2 separate regions of the Homo sapiens genome follow, and region 2 is linked to region 1. The links are contacts of gene promoters, found by promoter capture Hi-C in blood cells and fetal thymus (Javierre and others, 2016). All regions are on one chromosome and are shown on one strand. Each heading gives the region's core, a stretch centred on a gene start or on the middle of the fragment in contact. The rest is flanking DNA. Distances are from core to core; before and after follow the strand shown. Region 1 holds the start of SGMS2 (sphingomyelin synthase 2). Region 2 overlaps HADH (hydroxyacyl-CoA dehydrogenase).

Evidence for each region. Contacts are between HindIII fragments. The CHiCAGO score rates a contact against its expected background, and 5 or more counts as called.
Region 2: a fragment that was not itself captured here is called in contact with the fragment with the promoter of SGMS2 in region 1 in 1 of 17 cell types (M0 macrophages); the score reaches 5.9 in M0 macrophages.

Annotation. Positions count from the first base shown.
Region 1 is chr4:107,822,832-107,830,297 of GRCh38, reverse strand. SGMS2 (sphingomyelin synthase 2) reads right to left here and starts at 5,366. Exons shown (of 7, transcript NM_001375905.1): 1 at 5,045-5,366. RefSeq lists an enhancer at 1,949-3,148. The HindIII fragment of the contact is 3,698 bases long and covers 2,940-6,637 here.
Region 2 is chr4:107,994,829-108,002,163 of GRCh38, reverse strand. The region is part of intron 1 of HADH (hydroxyacyl-CoA dehydrogenase); the gene reads right to left. Among named protein-coding and RNA genes, the nearest start is that of HADH, 8.6 kb to the right of the region's middle. The HindIII fragment of the contact is 5,569 bases long and covers 2,201-7,335 here.

The DNA.
Region 1 (7,466 bases), core at 4,117-6,616:
AACCTAGATGCCCACCAACAGTGGACTGGATAAAGAAAACGTGGTACATACATACCATGGAATACTATGCAGTCATAAAAATGAATGAAATCATGTCCTTTGTGGCAACATGGATGTAGCTGGAGGCCATTATCCTAAGTGAATTAACACAGGAACAGAAAACCAAATACTGCATGTTCTCACTTATAAGTGGGAGCTAAACACTGAGCAGACATGGACCCTAAGAAGGGAACCACAGACACAGGGGCCTACTTGAGGGCAGAGGGTGGGAGGAGGGTGAAGACTGAAAAACTACCTATCAGGTACTATGCTATCTGAGTGACAAAATAATATGTACATCAAACCCCTGTGACACATAATTTACCCATGTAACAAACCTGCACACCCAAAATAAAAGCTGGAAGGAAAAATAAAGGAATTGCATGGCTGACAAGGGTGGCTCATGCCTGTTATTCACCACGTTGGAAGGCTGAGGTGGGAGGATCGCTTGAGTCCAGGCATTCAAGACCAGCCTGGGCAACATAGCAAGACTCTGTCTCAATTTAAAAAAATAAAAGAATAATAATATAAATAGTAAATGGGGTATAGTGAAAGGAAAGACTGTACATATAAAAGAAATAATTCAGTTAGTTGCACAAGTTTAGTTTGAAAGCTTTAAGCGAGATATCAATTTAAATAAACACAAACACAAAATTATAAGGCTGAATTTCAAATTGTATAGGGGTTTGTCAATAGAGGGGAAACCAATTATAAAATAACTCATTATCTGATTTGACTTTAATTCTATTAGCTATTTCTTTAAACTTTGCTTTGAATTACAAGTCATTGTTAGAAATTAATAAAGTGAACTGATCTGGGTATCTGTATGAAGTGGCTGAAATGAACACTACTCATATTCTAACATCCTTTATCAAAACCTTAAAGATAAATTAACACTGGAAATCAAAATAGAAAAGTGAATGAAAAACTAAAATTTTGACTCAGAGTAGCAAAGATGTGATATTATTGTAAAACTTGAGAATGTTTCAAGAAATGCTTTATATTTATAATAAAAATAAACTAATAGAAATTTCTCGCACTTTCATTAAATCAGCCCCAAAATGTCAAACAACAAATGTGTAATGTTTTAAAAAACAGGTGACCTATTTAAAATGGATGGAACTTATTCTAAAGGTAGTGATAAGTCTGCTAAATGCAACACCTGAAAGTATTTAATTCATCTGTCTCACTGGGTTCTAATGCTTCATCAAAGTGTAGAAGTAGAATGTCCTTCAGAGAGCTCCTTGGCAAAATTAGCACCTCTCCATTCTGCTATACTTCCCCAAAAAAGACATTTAGCTTCATGGCTAATAAAAATAACACACACAAACAGTACTTTAAGAAAGTTTGTATGTTCCCGTTTCAACAGATAAATTCCTTGCATAATGAGCTACTGCTCCACTGTGCGACTCCATAGAGAAGGTTGATCCTATTGCTGAAATCTTATGAGATATGCTAAAGGAACGCAGAAATTAAGACTCTGAAATTTTAAATTAAAGAGACAGGGAAAAGTTCTCTAATTCTGAATACAGTTTAGAAAAAAGGGCAGCTAAATTAAACATTATGTTTCACTTTTTAAAATGCAAAATAACTGAAATAATCAAGAATGTGTACACAGACATAGCTAGAAAGATTTAATGCAGAGCTGCTTAAAATAGTGAACACTGGCAACAAACTAAGTGTTCAGCGATAGGGGACTGGTTGAGACACAGCCACAAAACAGAAAACTAAAAATGATGCTGTGTAAGAGTATGTTAGTGACATACAGTTGTCCATGTTTGGATGAGGAGAGAAAACGTAAGTTGGAACATAGAGAATGAACCCATTTTTGTAGAGATAAATTTCAGCTGCTGCAACTTCAGGAAAGTTACTTAATTTCCCTAAAACAGTTGTATCCTCAGTAAAAGAAGGTAATAAGAGTACCTACCTCACCGGGTTGGAGTGGGGATTACAAGAGATTTGATGTATAAAGCAACTGTCACGTTGCCTGGCCCATAGTAAGATCAATACTCGTTAGCTGTTTGTGTTATCTGTGCATAGGGGCAAAATATAAAGAGGGGGCAGATAGAAATGTTAAATGATTTTCTGGGTGGTGAGATTATGGCTGATTTGTTTTGCCTATACTTATAAATTTCCATAAGTAACACATTACTTATAATATGGGGAAAACTAATAAGTTGGAATACTCATACAAGGATAATCCTCTTAAAAATCTACCATAGTGTTTTGTTCACAGCAAATAAATCTTTTTTTGTTTTGTTTTGTTTTGTTTTGAGACAGAGTCTAGCTCTGTCACCCAGGCTGGAGTGCAGTGACGCAATCTCAGCTCACTGCAACCTCCACCTCCCAGGTTCAAGCGATTCTCCTGCGTCAGCCTCCCGAGTATCTGGGACTACAGGCGAGCACCAACATGCCCGGCTAATTTTTCTATTTTTAGTAGAGATGGAGTTTTACCATATTGGCCAGGCTGCTCTTGAACTTCTGACGTCAAGTGATCTGCCTGCCTCGGCCTCCCAAAGTGCTGGAATTACAGGTGTGAGCCACTGCACCCAGCCACACAGCAAATATATCTCAGTTGAGCTGAGCTGACCCTTCAGATTTCATTTAAACAAGCTTGCTTTGAATATTTAAAATTATTTAAACTGAAGAGCTATCACTTGTCCGTAATATTTTACTGTGTAAAGCAAGGCATACTTTTATTATTCGGCCTCATAAAGAATTTACGAGCCCCTATTCAAGACCATTCAGAATGCCACCAGATCTCTTATTATCAGTGGGAGGCAGCCTATGACGGCCTAATCACTTCTTGTCTCTTCCCAAGTCCCCAGCACTCTCCTTTTTTGACTCCTTTTTTCCCCTCTTGATAATCACAGCCTGAGGTCTCTACTGGACTATAAGCTTTGGGGTAGCAACTATCTCCTTCGTTTGCATTGCTGGCCCCTAGCACAGTGGCTGTTATGTAGTTGTTGCATACTAAACGTTAAGCAAATAAATATCTGATACTAGTAGTTCAAGACAAAGCCTTCAATTTCTCCATTGAGACAACACGCTAAAGGTGGGTAAGTCATTGTTTAGTCTAAAACTGTCCAAAACTCTCAGTAATTATTCCTTTAAAAAAGAAACATCTCACCTCAAAGCATCACTTTTAAAAAAAGTTCTCACTGATACTCCATTGTCTATTTTAATAGTTCTAAGATTATTTCTATTTTTCCCCTATATTTTGTTTAAAGTCCCACAAAAATCCCAAAGAGTTTAAGTAAACTTGCTCAAAGGAACACAGCTCAGAGAGCCTCAGGTCTCCTGGATTCCCATGTCCATGATCTCACTACACGGTACTGTCGTAGGACAGCTCCCAGATCTTTCACCCTGTAAGTTGTTATAGTTATGGTAAGAGCAAATGTCTTCAATAACGTGCACAAGTGCTAAAGTTTCTTCCAAACATTTCCTAGGGCTTTTATGAGATTCTGCGAGGGGAGAAACTCAGAACAAGGTGCAGCCACCTCAAGGTGTCCAAGTGTTTCCCTCTAGGTTCACAAGTCAACTAGCTTTACTTAAAAATGAAACCAAAGGAACCAAATTAAACATTAACTTGTTAAAAAAAAAAACACTTCAACCAGACTATTGTGAAGTAAGAACATTAGAAGACCAAGGAAAGGGCCATAAAGAGGAAATTTTGCACTGCTTGCACTGCTTCTTTAGGAAAAAAAAAAGGTAAAGGTAAAGTTAGCTTCCTCACGTCCTTTCTTCCTGTAAATTCCAGGTTGTCACTTTCAGCCATTGCTCTGACATTGTTTAAACAGTAAATGGCAGTTCCCATGACACAGGATGGAAACCATAACCTTCTCAGGTATCCGTACTAAAAATGTTTAACTTGCTGAAAACATCACTTCCCAATCTAAGGAACTTGCCAAAGGATTTCACATGCTAACCCTCGGCCCACCAGGCTTATAAGGAGGACATTCTGTGGAAATTAATTGGTTATTACCTAAGCCAGCTGCAACACACTATTATTTATATATAAACAGCTATAATTTGTTGGGGTCTGCTTTGTACCAGACATTATGAGAAGTCTTTTGCGCTTTAATCCTCATTATTATCCTCATTATTAATCCTTATTTAATCCACCTTATTATCTGAAGTAGCTATAATCCCATTTTACTGGTTCAGAATGTTTAATGTGCCTGAGCACCCACCGTTAATAGAGGAGACTGGTAATGAAACCAAGGATTTGAAAAGTTAGGTACAGATTGAAAACCCACGCCGAATCCAGTGACACTAAACAGTTGAATCTCTTCAAAATATAACACACATGTCAAAATGATTTTAAGGTCATTTCAGAGCAGGCAAGACTTGAAATAGAGGACCGGCAACATTAATAAATAAAAAAGACTACAGGACATAACATTTTGAGTTGGTTTCAAGCCGTGGATAATTAATGATTATCCATACCTCTGGATGGATGTTGACAGGGGTTCCCCGCCCCTTATTTTCGCTGAGAAACCAAGTCTTCCCTTCCGTAAAGGGAGCAGCTCTGGAATGCCACACGTTGAAGGGTTTCGGTGTGGGCTGCCCAGAGCTGGGCTGTTACTGTTCACACATCATCAGTAAGTGCCTCTCAAAAAAAAAAAAAAAAAAAAAGAGAAAGAAAAGAAAAACCACACACACAAACACACACACACAGTCCCTCCTCCACCAACTGAACTTCAGCCCTGACCTCCGGAGTGGTTCTGGACAATCTGGGGTTTAACCTGTGCCCTTCCAACGCCAGGACCGGGGTACCCGAAATGGGTTGCAAATGAATGAGATGACTGCTCAGAGGAAGGAGACTAAGGCACACATCTCTCCTCCAGACCACAAAATCGAGGAAGCATGCCCTGGGCGGGGAGGGTGGGGGCCGGATTAGAGCCACGTCCCCGCTTCGCAATCCACCTTTCCCCTCCCGCGCTTCGGAGGACTCTCCGCTCCCCAGCCCATCCTCCTCCTGGCCCCTCCGCGCGCTCCTTACCCGCTGGTGGCCAGGGCTCCAGACACTCCCAGCTGAAGGCACTTGCTCCCGGGAAGGGGATTTGCCAGGGGATGGAGCCCGCTGCCGCAGCCGCCGCGACCAGCCCCGGGCGTCACCACCCTCGGGCCGAAGCCGCTAGAAAGTTTGCTCGGGGTCTCGCCCTCCCACGCCGCGGCCTGACTAGGGGAAGCAGCTCTCCGGGTCCCTCCCGCGGCCGCCGCCCCCGAGGCCGCACTCGGCGGCGCTGCAGCACCGGCCAGGCTCCGTGCGCGCCGAGGGCTGGGTCTCCCCGCCCCACTCGGCCCACGGCGCGGCGCTCAGTGTTGACCGCGGCCCCGCGCCCGCTCTCCCCGCCCGCCGCGCGCGGCCCGCTCCCTGCGCCCTGCGCCCAGCGCGCTCTTGACATCATTCATTCTCTCACACCCTCGCCCGCCCACTCCATTTCCAAACAGTGACTCACCCGTCGGCCCGGTGGCAGCAGTGCCCGTTCCTGCTGCCGTGGCTCTCCTGGCGCAGAGTGGAGCTCGAAAAACCTGCGCGACTTCTTAAGAAGAAAATCCCAGCCGACTCTCCCCTCGCGGCTGTTTAAGGTGCAGAGAAGGAGGGGCTTGGCAGGCAGGGCAGTTTGGCTCCCGGCCGAAAGGCTGAGGGCCTGGAGCTGACCTCCCTGAGCGGCAACAGAGATCAATCTGGGAAAGTTCTTTGGGTGCCACTCCCAGCAACTTTCAGGGGTGGGGCTGGAACGGGATCCCCCACCCCCGCACCCGGCCTGTTTCGGAAACTGCTTCCTGACGGCGTGTGAGTGGGCTTGGGAGCGCCAGCGTTGATTCAGAGGGTTTATCGGTGTTGACCGGGCCTAGGTCAAAGAGGTGGGTTTCCAAACCTCACAGCGTTGCCTGGCAAGGTTAGTCATCAGTCCGCATGGTATGAGCTGGAAGGTTGCTCCAAGCTAATGAGGTGGCAGCACTGTCCCTTTCGTGCCTAACCATCGTGTCATTTGTCCTGTTAATTGATTTACTTCTCACTTAAGGAATCGTAACCAAAATAAACAGTGTAAGTAGTTATTTGCTTAACTGAATACTGCGCTTTTCCGCAGCTTTTGGGGCCCAAGGCAGCCGTGTGGTTTCTTCGAAGGCCTCAGTAGTTTTTTAAAAGGGGGATTGCTGTCTTTAAAATGGTAATGGTTCTACATTGTCCTGGAGTTGCTATTCATACACCTGCTGGGCAGTTTTCAAAGTAAACGATGGCAGCCTCAAGGACTCTAACTAGGAATGACCAATCCGAGGGAATGTGGCTAAATCTTTCTTGACATAAGTTTTACATTAATGTCTCCTTCTGGACAAGATAATTATGTTTAGGATTTGCGCTGGTTTATGGGTGCTTCCATATAATCAACAAAAATAATGACGGGAATCTTTGGGTTTCTAGTGCAGATATCATGTGGGTCAACAGTCATTTGTGGCTATTAAAGATGATGGTAACAGAAAAGAATATACAAGGCAGGCAATCCCCAAACTCGCAACTTCAAGATGTCGTCACAGTACAGGCAACCAAAGAAAATGGACAAATGGGATCATATTAAGCTAAAAAGCTTCTGCACAGCAAAGGAAACAAACTGAAGAGACAACCCACAGAATGGGAACTATCCATCTGACAAGGGATTAATAACCAGAATATATGAGGAGCTCCAACAACTCTATAGGAAAAAAAAATCTAATAGTCCGAGTAATAAATGGGCAAAAGATTTGAATAGACATTTCTCAAAAGAAGACATACAAATAGCAAACAGGTATATGAAAAGGTGCTCAGGCAATAAATACTGGCGAGGTTGTGGAAAAAAAAAGGAACCCTTGTGTTTGTGGGAATGTAAAAAGTATAACCACTATGGAGAACAGTATGGAAGTTCCTCATAAAACTAAAAATAGAGATACCGTATGACCTAGCAATCTCACTGCTAGGTATATATGCCCAAAAAAGGAAATCAGTGTATCAAAGAGATACCTGCACTCCTATGTTTATTGCAGCACTACTCACAATAGCCAAGGTTTGGAAGCAACCTAAGTGTCCATCAACAGATGAATGGATAAATCGTTACATATACCCATGGAGTACTATTCAGCCATAACAAAGAATGAGATCCTGGCATTTGCAACAACATAGATGGAACTAGAGGTCATTATGTTAAGTGAAATAAGCCAGGCACAGAAAGACAAATTTCACATGTTCTCACTTATTCATGGGAGCTAACATTTAAAACAATTGAACTCATGGAGACAGTAGAATGATGGTTACCAGAGGCTGGGAAGGGTAGGGGGGATGGGTAATGGGTAAAAAATATATATATAGTTAGATAGAATGAATAAGGTATAGTATTTGATAGCAAAACAGGGCAACTACAGGCAACAGTAATTGTGCATTTTAA
Region 2 (7,335 bases), core at 3,736-6,235, 170 kb before region 1:
GCTCTGGAGGGGACGAGCACTGTGTCCTCATATGGCAGAAGGGAGAAGAGGCAAAGTTGGTCTCTCAAGCCCCTTTAAATGGCACTAAGCTGTTCATGAATACAGAACCCTCATGACCTAATCACCTCCTAAAGGCCTTATCTCTTAATACTGCTGCACTGGGGATTCAGCTTCGACATAAATTTTGGAGGGAACACAAACATTCCTATCAGAGTAGCTTCTTCCACCACCACTGCTGCATGAAATTAGATACAGTTGGTCCCCCCTTTATCTGTGGTTTTACTTTCTGTAGTTTCAGTTACCAACAGTCAACTATGGTCCAAAAATATTAAATGGGAAATTATAGAAATAAATGATGCATGTTTTAAATTGCATGTCATTCTGAGTAGTGTGATGCAATCTTGAATTGTCCTGTCTGGGAGGAGACTCATCCCTTGGTCCAGCATATCCACACTGTATACTACCCAATCCATTAGTCACTTGGTAGTTGACTGGGTTATCAGATCAAAAAGACATAGTATGTATAGGATTTGGTACTATCTGCAGTTTCACGCATCCACTGAGGGTCTAGGAATGTACTCCCTCCCCTCGTAAGGGGGGACTACTGTAACTTATCAATGGTCTACTAAATTGCTAAAGTCAATGCCTGTTCTTTGGCTTCATCTTCTACAACAGCTCTGTACATTGCCAATAAAAGTTTCATTTTTGAAACTCTTCAGTTTCTTATCTGTCTGTTCCTTTTAGCCATATTAATTGACCTCTCTTGATCTTCTAAGCCTATAAACAAGGACTTCCTTCAAGGTTCTGTTTCCAATATAATTTCCTTCTGAAATTCCAATCGTTCTCATACTTCCAACTGTGCCTGAAACCAAAATAATCTATCTAAGCTGCAGTTATCACCTTGACCCTAAAATCAATTCTCCTTGGCCTTCATTACTGGTACCACTATTCTGTAGGTCACCATTTTCTGGACAACACTTTTTCCTTAATCCCAACCATTAACTGCTGTCCAGAAATGTTCTATCCATTATTCAGGCCCATTTCAAATGCTACCCTCTCCATGAAGCCTTTTTCCAAATGAATGTACTTTCTATTTTGAAACCTCAGAACTAGATTTTTACTGCTCTTATTGTACTACTTTACACCAAAGTAAACTGTGTCATTTAGATCTCTGTCTAATCTCTGCTCTTAGATTTAAAATCCCTTAATGGCAGAAATTGATTTGGTCTTTGTAGCCCTTAGTACTTATCACATGCCTTGAATATGATAGCTGGTCAATAACTGCTAAATAACAAATGCTTTGGACGGTAGTAACCCGATTCTGTAGTCTTCCCCAGCCACACCACACGTCTCCCTCCTCTGTGCTATCTCATGGCTCTGTGCCCTTGTTCATGTGGTTTCCTCTGCCATACATGTCCGGCTCCCTCATTGCTGCTTCATGGACTTCAACTTACCCTTCATAATCTAACATGGACACCATCTCTCCTTTAGTGAAACTTCTCCCAACCCTTAGTAGAGGTAATCACTTCTTTTGTGCCTCTAGTGATTTGCAGATACAGCAGATCTTTTGTGCAGGAATTCAAATACTGAAAGAAAATAACTGGGTGTGGCGCTGGTGTGAACCACCAATGGCTGCTCAGTTATGTAATGGCAGCCCAGTCCCCAGGATGTGAACAGAACAGAGAAATAAAAACTTAACTGGTTATAGACTATTTCATGTCATAAGAATCTCACCGATTTCAGAATAAAAGTTATTAACCAACCAGAGCATAGGAGAAATCCCAGATGTGAAAGATGAATGATACACTTGAAATAGAAAAGCTAACCATACCAACCTTTTCTTCTTTAAAAAACTGATATGTAATAGCTGTACATACTTTTGGGGTACATGTGACATTTTGATACCTGCCTAAAATGTGTAATGATCAAATCAGGGTAACTGGGATATCCAACACCCTAAACACTTATCTTCTCTTTGCCAACACCAACTTTAGATGATGAAATCAAGATAGTACGGAGAGACCTTTCAAAAGTGCTGTTGCATCATCCACTTCAGGTTGTCAAGCTGCTGTTACCACAAATCCCAATATAGGGTGCTTAGGAACACTCCTATCTACAGGCCAATGAGAATTTCCAGTAAATACAAATTTCACAAACATACAGGCAGTACAATGTATACATATATCTTTTAACATAAGCTTTTTTAATGTCCCTTTTTCCTTAGCATAAGATATATATACACACTATATGTCATATCACATCTTAAGTATTTAAAAACCATACTTTAAGGTAAGGTATGTAAACTATTATAACTTTCATCTGTTTCAGATCAAATCCCAGATATGACAGGTAGGCTGTCTGTGCCTTCATTACAATTAGTTGTTCATACCTGTATTTCTTCCACTAGACAGTAGGTTTCTCAAGAGCAGCAATCACATCTTACTTTTTACCTGGCCTGATGTCTAGCACAAGGGAGATATTTCATACTCATGAAATGAACACTTGAATGACAGAGCTATTTTTTCATAAGTCTCAATTTGTAAATTATTTTAGAAATAAGTTCTCAAGAAGTCATGACTGGTTTTGTTGCTAGAAACCTTTATGATAAACTTTGTGTAAGCATCAAGTTACTTTAAAATTATGAGAAGTCACGTTATTAGTTTGAAAAGGATAGTAAGGAAAAAAAAGGAGCTAATAGCCAGAGTCTAGTCAATTACCAAGTGGAAAAAATGCCACTAAAGTCTCTCTCTGTTATTTTGGTGAGCAGATTAACTGCTTTCTAGTACTGGTGGTTGTGACGCTAGGTAAAAGGGGAAATGTAGGGCAGTTGCTATGCGTTGCCCAATGCAAGATCAATATTCTTTAAGTGGTATCCAGCCCTGTGATTTCAAAATGGATGTGTGCTTAATTCACTCCAACATGTGAATGTGTCTTATACCTTTCATCCAAGAGGCTGTAAGGCTAGAGGCATGCCAACCCTGTGTCTGTGCCTGTCTGTGAGGGGCACATGTGTGAATCAGGTCAGAGATGGCCACAGACACATAAGCTCACTGCTCTCCAACACAGGTTTCTTCTCTATCACAGAAGGGAAACTAACACACCTAGCTTCTCAACTACTTTAAGAGATTGGCGAAAGCATTTATTGTTCAGGCTTATTAGCTACAGATAATCAGGATCATCAATTTTGAGAGGAGGAAGACAACCCAGAGATCATTCAGTGTGGCGGCTCTCAAATGTTTTAGCCATGAACACCTTTTTCCATAAGAATGCATATTGAAGACCAATATGTACAACAAAGGTCAGAGAAGGAATCTTTACCAACCTTTCGGGAACCATGAAGGAGATTCATGAAATCTCTAATGTCCATCACAGTATAATGTTAAAAACCTCTGATCTCATACCCATTAGGATGGCTATTACTAAGAAAAAAAAACAAAAAAACAAAAAGAACACAACTATTGCCTCATGCATGACAGTCTTAACACCACCACAAGGCCAGTAGCTCCCTACATCTGCCTCTCAACTCCAGCCCTTCTCTTGGCCTCACCTTCTCCCCAACTTCACCTATTAACTAAGCCTAAAAATCAGCCGGGCGCGGTAGCTCACACTTGCAATCCCAGGACTTTGGGAGGCTAAGGCGGGCAGATCATGAGGTCGGGAGTTAGAGACCAGCCTGACCAACATGGTGAAACCCTGTCTCTACTAAAAATACAAAAATTAGCCAGGCATGGTGGTGCACGCCTGCAATGCCAGCTCCTCAGGAGGCTGAGGCAGAAGAATTGCTTGAACCTGGGAGGTGGACACTGCAGTGAGCCAAGATCACGCCTCTGCACTCTAGCCTGGGTGATAGAGAGAGACTCTGTCTCAAAACAAAACAAAACAATCATTTCCAGTTAGTAAGCCTACTCCCCAAGATCCTCTCAGCCCTAAGCTAGATGTCCCCCATATGCCCTGTAACATCCCTGCATCTGTGTACCACAGCACCTACCAAACTGTGTTATAGTAATCTGAACTCCTCTACTGTAGGCTCCTGACCAAATGTCATTCATCTTTGTACACTGAGAACCTAGACCCTGCCTGGCTGTGGCTGGCCCTCAGGGAATGTTGACTGAATAAAGACATTTGTTGGTAAAGTCAAGATGAGACCTGGTGGCTCTTTCCACTGCTGTAGCTGATGGCCTCTCCTGATAACGTAACCTCTTATTTAGAAAATAACTACAGAGAAACAAGTACAATTCATTCTCCTGAGTAATTCAGTAACACCCAAGTTACCGCCAACTTTCTGGGATGGAGAAGGCAGTGGAGAAATGAACTGCAAAAAAAGAAAGGCCTTCTTCTTCTCCTTTCATAGACATCTGTTATTTTTACAACAAATGAGGAGGACTCTTCCTGGCAGTTTGAGTGACCACAATTTAAATCAATCCATTGAGAACTCATGTTTTATATTACAGTGACCTACATGCTGGTAAGACCTTGAGGACAAGCAGTCTGCAATGGAAAAAAAAATATTTGAAGGCTATGTCCTCAGCTCCATGACTTTTCTAGGCCTGGTGGAAGGCAGGCTCAGCCAGAGAGGAAATATTTTTAGACACGGCTGCTTCAGAGTTGTAAAAATAGGCTAAGTGACTAGCACATTTGTCAAAGCCCCAGAGCACTCTGACCACAGGACCAAGTAAACATGCCAAGCAGAAGCACACTGGATTTATTTATCTTTGTAAATGTATCAAGAAGATTTGAAGCAGCTTTCTCCGAAGCACAACTTGAGTGGTGAGTCTATGAGACCTACATCAACTGGTCTGGTGACTGGTCTCCCTCCCATCTCCTCCCTCAACAGTTCCACTGGATGTCCCATGTGCCTAGACATTACAAGGAGGGCCACCGTTTTCATCCTCTCTCTGGAAAATCCCAAAGTTATGCAAACTATCTACCACACATGATTTCTGACTTTCTTCAGATCCCCAGAATAAGTAGACTGAGTCAGAGCTCCCTGAGGCCAACTGTGCTTCAGAGGCTGCAGCGCCTTAACAGCAAGGCCTGCCTTTTACGGTTGTCATGGTTTGATCCAGAGAGGAAAAAAGTCATACATCAGTTGCATCTCTCAGGGCTGGCATTTCTGGGTTTATGATTGTCTCTGGTTGTGTAATGTCTTGAACTCTGCCATCAGCACAAGTTGTCTTCCCTGACTTCAACAATTAGCAAAAGCTGTTCTGTTGAGGATGTCAACCACCACCACCACAACCAGCTGGTTTGTTCTTTTTTTTTTTTTTTTTGAGAAGGAGTCTTGCTCTGTTGGCCAGGCTGCAGTGTAGTGGTGTGATCTTGGCTCACTGCATCCTCCGCCTCCTGGGTTCAAGCAATTCTTCCACCTCAGTCTCCTGAATAGCTGGGACTGCAGGCATGTGTCACCATGCTCAGCTAATTTTTGTATTTTTAGTAGAGACAGGGTTTAACTTTGTTGGCCAGGCTAGTCTCGAACTCCTGACTTCAAGTGATCTGCTCGCCTCAGCCTCCCAAAGTGATGGGATTACAGGCGTAAGCCACCATGCCTGGACTGGTTTTTTTCTTCAAACAGTTAAATTAATTGGACAGACTCCTTTATTAGACTTCGAATTTTACATTTCAAAAAGTATTTCTAAAAGGCAAAGAAAGTGTGCGCCCATTTTTAGACTAGAATTGTGTTACATAGTTTTTTTTTAATTCAGTAAGTGTGTAGGTTTCATAATAACCCAGATAACCTCTCCCAGACTTCTCACCTCCCACAAATTCTGAAAAGGTAAAGGGATAACCAGACATGTCAACAGCATCGTTATATTTAAGAATCCCTGGAAGATGTTGCTATGATGGACACTTTCCGGGTAGAGGAGAGTTATAAATCCAAATGCCTCTCCAGGAAGACTAATATGACAATGTTTGCCATGATGAGTGGGTTTTTTCTTTTAGTTTTTGCTGAAAGGACCAATTAAGAGGCTCCCATGACAATTCAGGTTAACACACCTGGTCTAGGAACTGCAAAGGAGAGGGCAGAGGAAAGAGCTCTCCCATGACCAAAAAGTTACAGAGCCTTTTCTGGTATGGAGACACTGATTGTGATCCCATCTTCAGAGTACATGTGGCTGGAAGAACAACTGCAGCAACAGGAGGGGCAAGCTCTCTGGAAAAAGCTGGAGGGGAAATAATGAATTAGATCTTGGCAGGTGAGTTTGAGTCTACCATGGGCAGAAGGATGGCAGCACAGCACCCTGATGTAGACGACCAGCAGGTAGACTAACTTTGAGTCCAGAGCCAAGGAGACGTCAACCTGGGATGTACTGATTCCAGAGAGCCACAGAGGATCCCCTGCCATGGATGCCACACTTCTCCCCACAATACAGCACTTGCCAGAGGTGCAGGCAGAACTGAATTCAGGCTTGGGGATTTACAGGCAGCAGAACAGAAGAGAACTCAAGTTCTAACCCCAGCTCTGCCTCTGACCATTGACCCCAGGAACCATCTCTGCAGGGGTGATTATTGTAATGGTCACATGAAATTAAATAAATCAAAATTCTTTGAACAGAATAAAGTGTCATATTTTGTAGAGTGGTTTTAGCTCTACAAAAACCAGTAAATGGTACACTATCTTTCTCAACAACCCACATAAATAAGTCTTAACATCTTTAGAATTGCTGGAACTCCCTATATCAAAACTCTTCCGACAGTGAAGACAATCTAAGAGAAATCCTCACTAGATCAGGTCTGATGGGTCTATGTGAAAGCAGCTAATATTTATCAGACAGTTACTATCAAACACACTAATGCTATTCTAGGAGCTTGTATATTAGTTCATTTAACTTTCACAGCTGTCAGGTGAGTCTCATTATTCCCAGGTAAGTAAAGAGGCAGAGAGGAGTTAAGTGATTTGCCCAAGGTTCCTAAAGGCAGGATAGGAAGGCTAGCATCTAAACCCTGGCAGGGACCTCATAGCCTGTACTTTTGAGATTAGAATACCACTACCAGAAATAATAACATCATGAATATAACAGGGGGAGCCACAGAGAACATCCACATTATCTTCCTGTGGTCCCAGGAGAACTAGAGAGTGAGGTGTGTGTGCCTACCACAGATAAGAGAGAAGGGAGAGGGGAAGAAAGAAGAAACTCAAGCAAGGGGCAAGTGATTAAAGCTGGAGGCAGAACATGGCAGGAAAATGCCAAAACCTGACTGACTGAAGTGCCATTTCTGCTCTAAAAAATGTCCAAACATATCCCATAGCATTATTTTCTGTTGCCTGTGAGCCCTACCTCTTCTACCCTCTAGGAATGACAGTATCTCCAACCTCACCCAGAGTCCAATAACTAA